Regions from separate parts of the Homo sapiens genome. Here region 1 is linked to region 2. Evidence: promoter capture Hi-C in human tissues and cell types (Jung and others, 2019). All regions are on one chromosome and are shown on one strand. The core of a region is centred on a gene start or on the middle of the fragment in contact, and the rest is flanking DNA. Distances in the headings are between cores, read along the strand shown.

Evidence for each region. Contacts are between HindIII fragments. The study calls those that stand out against the background at their distance.
Region 1: a fragment that was not itself captured here is called in contact with the fragment with the promoter of BTNL9 in region 2 in 5 of the 25 tissues and cell types used here (bladder, lymphoblastoid cells, mesenchymal stem cells and 2 more).

Annotation. Positions count from the first base shown.
Region 1 is chr5:180,998,880-181,002,871 of GRCh38, reverse strand. BTNL3 (butyrophilin like 3) reads right to left here. Exons shown (of 8, transcript NM_197975.3): 4 at 87-200. Among named protein-coding and RNA genes, the nearest start is that of BTNL3, 12 kb to the right of the region's middle. The HindIII fragment of the contact is 3,918 bases long and covers 1-3,245 here.
Region 2 is chr5:181,038,635-181,042,414 of GRCh38, reverse strand. It overlaps BTNL9 (butyrophilin like 9), which reads right to left and starts at 2,149. Exons shown (of 11, transcript NM_152547.5): 1 at 1,983-2,149. The HindIII fragment of the contact is 13,573 bases long and covers 1-3,780 here.

The DNA.
Region 1 (3,992 bases), core at 37-2,536, 39 kb after region 2:
GCCCAGAGGTGTGTGAGGGCAGCCTGATATCAGCTCCACTGGAACCATGAAGAAGGTATGGGCCCATGCTTCTCTCTCTCACTTACCTTTGGATTTGAAGAAAACAATTATCATCCCCATGACAACACCACACAGGGCACCACAGAGTAACCCGAGTAAAATAGAAGCCAGGCGCCAAGGTGAGGGCTGGAAAAACGTCTCTGAAAAACAGTCCCACAGACCCTTAGTGATAGCTAAGCAGGTAAGACAATTTTACGCCCATTTAAGGAATCCCCCAGTACCCCAAGATGAAAACATTTTTCTCTCATTTCTTCCACAGATTTAAAGCTTTGCATTTCTATAAACATCTTGATCCATCCGGATTTCATATATATATATATATATATATATATATATATATTCACGTGTGTGTGTGTGTGCGCGTTAAAGCTTTGCATTTCTTTATAAGTCTTGATCCATCTGGATTTCATATATATATATATATATATATATATACACACACACGTGTGTGTGTGTGTGTGTGTGTCTATGTCTAATGAGGCAGAAGTTCAATGTCATCTTCTTCTAAGCAGGTGTTGACTGTGCTGGCAATGTTTGTTGAGTGGACCTTGCTTTACACACTGCCACACATGCAAGGTCACCTCTGTGTACCTCATGTTCAAGCTTGGATTTGTTTCTGGGCTCTTTGTTCTCTCTCATTGATCCATAGGGTTATCTCTGTGCCAATAATTTTAATTGGCTTAATCTTCAAAGCTTTGGGATATGTCTCTGAGATAAGACTAAGCTTCTTAGCTTGCTCTTATTCCACTGTATCTTAGCAATTCTTGGCTATTTGTTTTGCCACATAAACTTTGGAATTGACTTGTTAGGCTTTAAGAAAACTCTGGGCCAGGTGCAGTGGCTCATGCCTATAAACCCAGCAGTTTGGGAGGCCAAAGTGGGAGGATTTCTTTTTTTTTTTAAAGGTAATGTTTATTCTTTTCTCCTTTAGATTTCTTTGTTTTGTTTTGTTTTGTTTTGTTTTGTTGAGACAGAGTCTCGCTCTGTTGCCCAGGGAGGAGTGCAGTGGCGCGATCTCGGCTCACTGCAACCTCTGCCTCCCGGGTTCACGCCATTCTCCTTCCTCAGCCTCCTGAGTGGCTGGGACTACAGGCGCCCGCCACCACGCCTAGCTAATTTTTTGTATTTTTAGTAGAGATGGGGTTTCACCATGTTAGCCAGGATGGTCTCGATCTCCTAACCTCGTGATCCTCCCGTCTCGGCCTCCCAAAGTGCTGGGATTACAGGCATGAGCCACCGCGCCTGGCCGGGAGGATTTCTTAAGGACAGGAGTTCGAGACCAGTCTAGGCAACAAAGTGAGACCCCCCCCCATCTATAAAAATATTTAAAATTAAAAAAAATTAGCCAGGCATGGTGGTGCACACCTGTGGTCCCAGCTACTTGGGAGGCTGAGGTGGGAGGATTGCTTGAGCATGGGAAATTGAGGTTGCAATGAGCCATGATTGCACCACTATACTCCAGCATGGGTGACAGAGTGACAGCTCATCTCAAAAAACAAACAAACCAAAAAATGTGCTGAGATTTTTCTATGGAATTGTATTGAATCTGTACAGCAATTCTAGGAGAACTGGTATCTTTAAAAACATGCATCTTCTTATCTGAAAGGTGTTATGTTTGTTCTCTTATTTTAGTTTTCATTAGTGTCTTTTAATACAGTTTTATAATACCCTTCAATAAGATTTTGTAAACATTTTATTAGATTTTGTTTATTCCTCTCATTTTTCATGAACACGATGGATTCCTTTATGAGTTGAAAGAATTTGTCTGTAAATTTTTCTAAATTTTCCGTTTATATCATCATATAAACTGTGAACAATGGCCATTTAATTTTTTTCTTTCTAAAAGTTATAACTTTTACATTTTCTTCCCTTATTGAAGTGGCTGCTAATAGTAACAGTACTCTAATATAATGTGGAACAGAAGTGTTTAATGCAATCTCCTTATGTTATGATTTTATTTTATTTTATTTTATTTTTTTATTTTATTTTATTTTTTTTTGAGACGGAGTCTCGCTCTGTCGCCCAGGCCGGACTGCGGACTGCAGTGGCGCAATCTCGGCTCACTGCAAGCTCCGCTTCCCGGGTTCACGCCATTCTCCTGCCTCAGCCTCCCGAGTAGCTGGGACTACAGGCGCCCGCCACCGCGCCCGGCTAATTTTTTGTATTTTTAGTAGAGACGGGGTTTCACCTTGTTAGCCAGGATGGTCTCGATCTCCTGACCTCATGATCCACCTGCCTCGGCCTCCCAAAGTGCTGGGATTACAGGCGTGAGCCACCGCGCCCGGCCTATGTTATGATTTTAAATGACACATTATGTATAATGTTTTCGGTATGTATTTAAAAAATTAGGTGGCTTATTATTTTGTATGATGTTTGCTGCAAGTATCTTTAGATATCTTTTTATCAGATTAAGCAGAGTCTCTCCTATTTCTAGATTGATAAAAAAAATTTTCTTCTATTTCTAGATTTGCAAGTGTTGAAATCATGATGAATAGATGTAGAAAGTTATCTGTTTTATTTACATCTACTAAGAAAATTATAGTTTATCTCTTTTAACGAATTATGTTATAATTACATTAATATATGTTCCCATGTTGACCTAACATTTTTTTCCAGGATAAGTTTGGTCATGATATATGTTTTTGTGGACTTTTCTACTTGCAAAATTTTTGGTAAGATTTTTACATTTTCAATTATGAGTAATGTTGGTAAAAATTTTTCCTTTTTTGAATTGCCCATTTCTCTTATGATACCAAAATTATGTTGACTCAATAAAATGAGTTTAATATTTCCTATTTTTCTGCTCTCTGGCCGACTTTCTGAAAGATACATTTTCTCTTTTCTTGAATATTTGGTAGACTTTGTATATAAAACAATGTGGGCCTTGTGTCTTCCTTGTGGGAAGACTTTTAAATGCTGAGTCCACCTCTTTCATGGTTACAAATTAGTCAGGTAGTCTATCTTTCCTTCGGATTTTGTATTTTACGTTTTTCTTCTTTTTTAAAAATTTTTGAGACAAAGTCTCACTCTGTCCCCCAGGCTGGAGTACAGTGGGGCGATCTCAGCTCACTGCAATCTCTGTCTCCTGGATTTAAGTGATTCTCCAGCCTCAGCCTCCAGAGTAGCTGGGATTACAGACACACACCACCACGCCCAGCTAATTTTTGTATTTTTAGTAGAGATGGGGTTTCGCCATGTTGGGCAGGCTGGTCTCAAACTCCTGACCTCAAGCGATCTGCCCGCCTCAGCCTTCCACACTGCTGGGACTACAGGCATGAGCCACTGCGCCTGTCCTGTATTTTACATTTTTCTATGAAAACTTTCACTTCATCATATTCAATAGAAAAGGAAAAAGTTATTCAAAGCAGTTTATCTTACAAATCTCTACTAAATCTTTAGTTGTGCCTTCTTGTTATTTCCTGCCTTGTTTAATTGTGCTGTTTCTCTTTTATTCTTAACTGATGTTGCCAGTTTATCTATTTTAATAACACTTCGAACCGTCTAACTTTAGATGTATTAATGTGCACTATTTGTCTTTATATTTCCATATTTCTATATCTTTAGGATTTCTTCCACTTTCTTTTGCTGTTTTCTGAAATATATATTGATGCCTAATATCAATATTCAGCTATTTCATGCTAATAAGAACATTTAAGCATTAAAGGATATATATATATATATTTTTGAGATGGAGTCTTGCTCTATCGCCCAGGCTGGAGTGCAGTGGCATGATCTCGGCTCACCGCAACCTCCGCCTCCCGGGTTCAAGCAATTCTCCTGCCTCAGCTTCCCAGGTAGCTGGGATTACAGGCACCCGCCACCACACCCGGCTAATTTTTGTATTTTTAGTAGAGACGGGGTTTCACCATTATGGCCAGGCTGGTCTTGAACTCCTGACCTCAGGTGATCCGCCTGTCTTGGCCTTCCAAAGT
Region 2 (3,780 bases), core at 900-3,399:
TGATTACAGTGTAAATTGATTTCAGGTTGTTCCTGGTGAGGAGGTTTTGCCTGGGGAAGGAGTAAGGGACTGGACGCGTCGGATATTTGGGGAAGAAGGAAAACCCAGTGTGCGCAAGGACCACAAAGGGGTCCTCCAGCTGGAGCTGAGCTCTGCCGGCGGGCACGTGCTGCTTGTCCTCCCAGGAGCCTTGGGCTGCTCCCTCCGGAAGGCACAGGGAGAAATAAGGGGTCCTGAGAAATGTCACTGCCTGCACCCAGCAAAAGCCCATTTCTTTCTTCTCCTTCTCTTTTTATTTTTCTTTTCTTCTTGCTCTCTCATTGCCCCCAGCCCGCCCCACTCCTGTTCTCTCCTCCTGCACCTGCAATTCCTAAACAACCCTGATGTTTTTCTGATTTCCGGTCCCTCCGTCGAGTCTGTCTTTAAAGATGAGTACTTTTTGCTTTGCTACTGTTATTTTTTTAGATAATTTATTGTTAAATAAAGAATTTTAAAGCAAAATGCAGTGGGACAGATGTCAAAGGCAAGTTGAAAACATAATTTCTGTCAAATACTATTCTGGATTTCCTAAGGTTAGGCACAAGAAAAGCATCAAATGAAAAGGTACTTACTCAAACTAAGTCTTTTTAAAAAGTCTGTATTTGAAAGGAAAACAACTTTTCACTAAAAATATAAATCATTCTTATTACAGGAAAACCATAATTTAAGAGACTGAGAAAAGTTTTTGATTCACAAATAAATGGCATCTCCCTAATACACTTAGGACTGTTTGTTTTTAATCAGTGACTCTTAAAAATCACTGCTTCCACCTGACAAACTCAGGCGAATCACTATGGATTGGTGTCCTCTGAGCCACCCTGAAGCATCCCATTTTCTCTACACATGTCCTTTTCTCCAACTTTCAGCAAAGCAAGAATGGAGAAAAAGAGGATTAGAAGGAACTTCAGTTGGTTCCCTGGTGAATAACTTAACAAAATAAAACCTGCTTTTCCATTTGTATTACACATTCACAATCTCTCACTCTTACTTACTCTATTGGTGAATTTCAGATTCTGTCCACACATATAATTATTTGCCTGAACTTAACACTATCTTCCTGACAAATAGTAAATCTCCCAAGGACATCTCCGAACCTGGCAGTGTCCACAGGCCACGTCCTCCCACAGGAGTCCCTCGCCTGCTATGCAGCTGTTGGCGTCCTGAGCGATCCCAGTGTTTCCATGGGGGCAGAGCAAAACCTTGGGGATTCTCTAACATAATTTTAAGACTACATTTCACACTTAAATGACCACGTTATGAAACCTGGCAGGAAAATCCATGTTATTAATAAATGCCATGTCTCTTGCTCTCCCAAACACAGGAAGTATTTTTTGCTCTGCATATGTCTGCGGAGACTGTGGGGTCCCAGAGTGGAAAACTTCTCTAGTAACAAAGTACAGAAATTATCCCTGAAGTATAGTCTTTGCTTTGCTACTTCTGTAAGCTGTGTAACTGGTGAATTTTGCCTGTCTCCTGTCCTCCACTCCCCAAGCTGCAAGTCCGCAGGTGTCAGTGGGGCCTTGGCCCTCTCCCACGGGCCTCCCCGACACCCCCTGCAATGCCCTTCCCCCCGGCAGACCCCAGCTAGTGCTCACTGCCTGCGCTGGTTTGATTTCGATAGGTCCACAAGAGGATTTCCACCCTCTTAGTCTCTAAGGAAGATGGACTGCCCCAAGAAGGGAACCGCAATGAGGCTTGAAATCTTTTTCGTCTGGTGGGGGCAATGGGATGTATCAGGATCCTGCCTCCTGAGATGCGGCCCACCTAAACGGGCGTGGACATCTCCTCTTGGCCACACTCGAAACATCCCATGCTGCGGCCAAGCTCGGATAATAAAATGGTGCCACTAATTGTACGCCTTCCCAAAGCCTCCCACCTTCATTTTCTGATTGCCGTTTCTGAAAGATGGAGGTGTAGGCAGCTGTTGAGAATGAGCCACTTACCTGGCAGGTAGCAGCAAAAGGTCTGAAATGGCAGATGAGTCCTGGTGAGCTCACCTCCTCTGCAAAGGGTGATGATTGCTGTAAAGTGTCTTGGTCCCAGATGCTAAGATTCCCTAGACGTGGACTGGCAGCTGAGCTCCAGAGGCCAGGGCACGTGTGACAGAATTATTTATCCATCTTCCACCCTAAGATATATGCCGTTTGCTCTGCCCTTGGCTATGGAAACCAAGATGGATAGAACAAAACAAGGAAGTCGTCACATCCTGTCTCTGAGAAAAATCTTGAATTCCCATGTAAAATATCTCTCCAGGGTCACAGAAGGAGGGGAAAGGTATCTGAGAGCTTTGTAGAGAGCGACAGCTGCAGAGGCTCAAAGTGAGGAGAAAACGCTCCAGCTGGGTTCAGGGTCTTTGTGCCAGTGAAGCTCGGACTCCAAGGAGGCAGGGTAGCAGTCCCCGAACAGTGAAAGAGAGTAGACTGCAGTCTCCACTAACTAACCACGAGGAAGGGGCTGATGACCAATTTTTAACCCACCATAACCTTCTCCTCAGGACAAGGTCAGTAAGGAACAAATCCTGGGGGCATTGTCGTGAGGCAACCTGCAAAACCTGTTCACGTGCAACTTAGAAATGCAGGAGGGTGCTGGATTGGGATTTCTCTAGTGGAGAAGAGGTCAGAAAAGAAGCAGCAAGCACTACCCCAGCCCAGCCCACCCCATCTTACTGTAGGCCATGGTGCAACTTGGGCATTAGCGGACTGAGGCACCAGCCACCCAGCTGCAGCCCACACTGACGTCCCCTCCAGGGAACAGGCCAGAGCTGAGGCACGAGCAGCTCAAGCACATGCAGTGTTGTGGGAAACTGAGGACCGGAGAGACCGATGTGAAGAACAGGAGGATTGTTTATTTTAGGTACACACCGGCTCAGTGGACTCACATCCAAAAAGCTGAGCATTAAACAAAGACAGAGCGGGGTTTTTGTAAGTGGACTTACAATAAATAAAACAAAAGCAGCTAATCATGATAGGTCACATAATCTATAGCATAGCATAACTTGTGGCCTTGCACAGCGGGTGACTTTGTAGCTGCATTGAAAGAAAAACAAGAACTGGCTAAGTACAGACATTTGTAAAACACAATCATGCTTAAGAAGCCTGGGAAAACAGTAACAGTAAAAGAATTTGTCTTTCTCTCTTTTTCCTTCAACCTTGCTCTGGAAGTGGGGCGGCGGGTATCTGGAGCCCATTCCTTTGGCCTTGGCTTTCTGGACACTGTTATAACTGTCCTTGCAGTGGGCTTGCTATAGGCAGAGGAAAACTTGTCCTTTACTTTTTAACCCTTGCCTTGCCTGTTACTTTTCTTGGAGTGAATGAAGGCATATGTATTTTTAAATTTTCTGCCTCAGTAGCACACCCCAGGGACTCCCAGAAGTGCCTGTGTTTGTAGAGGGGCCTCTGCAGGTGACAGGGCGCTACATGGGTGGGAGACGGGAGCCAGCAAGCTTCAGGCATGGACCTGGAGGTGACTGTCTGTGCTCAGACAGGCTGGTGAGACTGGGCACCCAGGCTTATTAATGTGAACAGATGTCCCTAGGACAGCAAAAGGGGCTGAACAGTGAGCTCAAACAGTGGGTGCAGTTCCCCGGGCCTGGGGAGACAGAGGAGGGCTCAAGGACAGGGTATACTTAAGATGGATGCTGCATAAACAGTAGGATCAGGGAAGCCATGGGCAGCCCGGGAGGACAGAGCCTGCGAGGACAGACATTCTTCGTGGAGGGAGGTGATTAGCATGTGGGAGGTA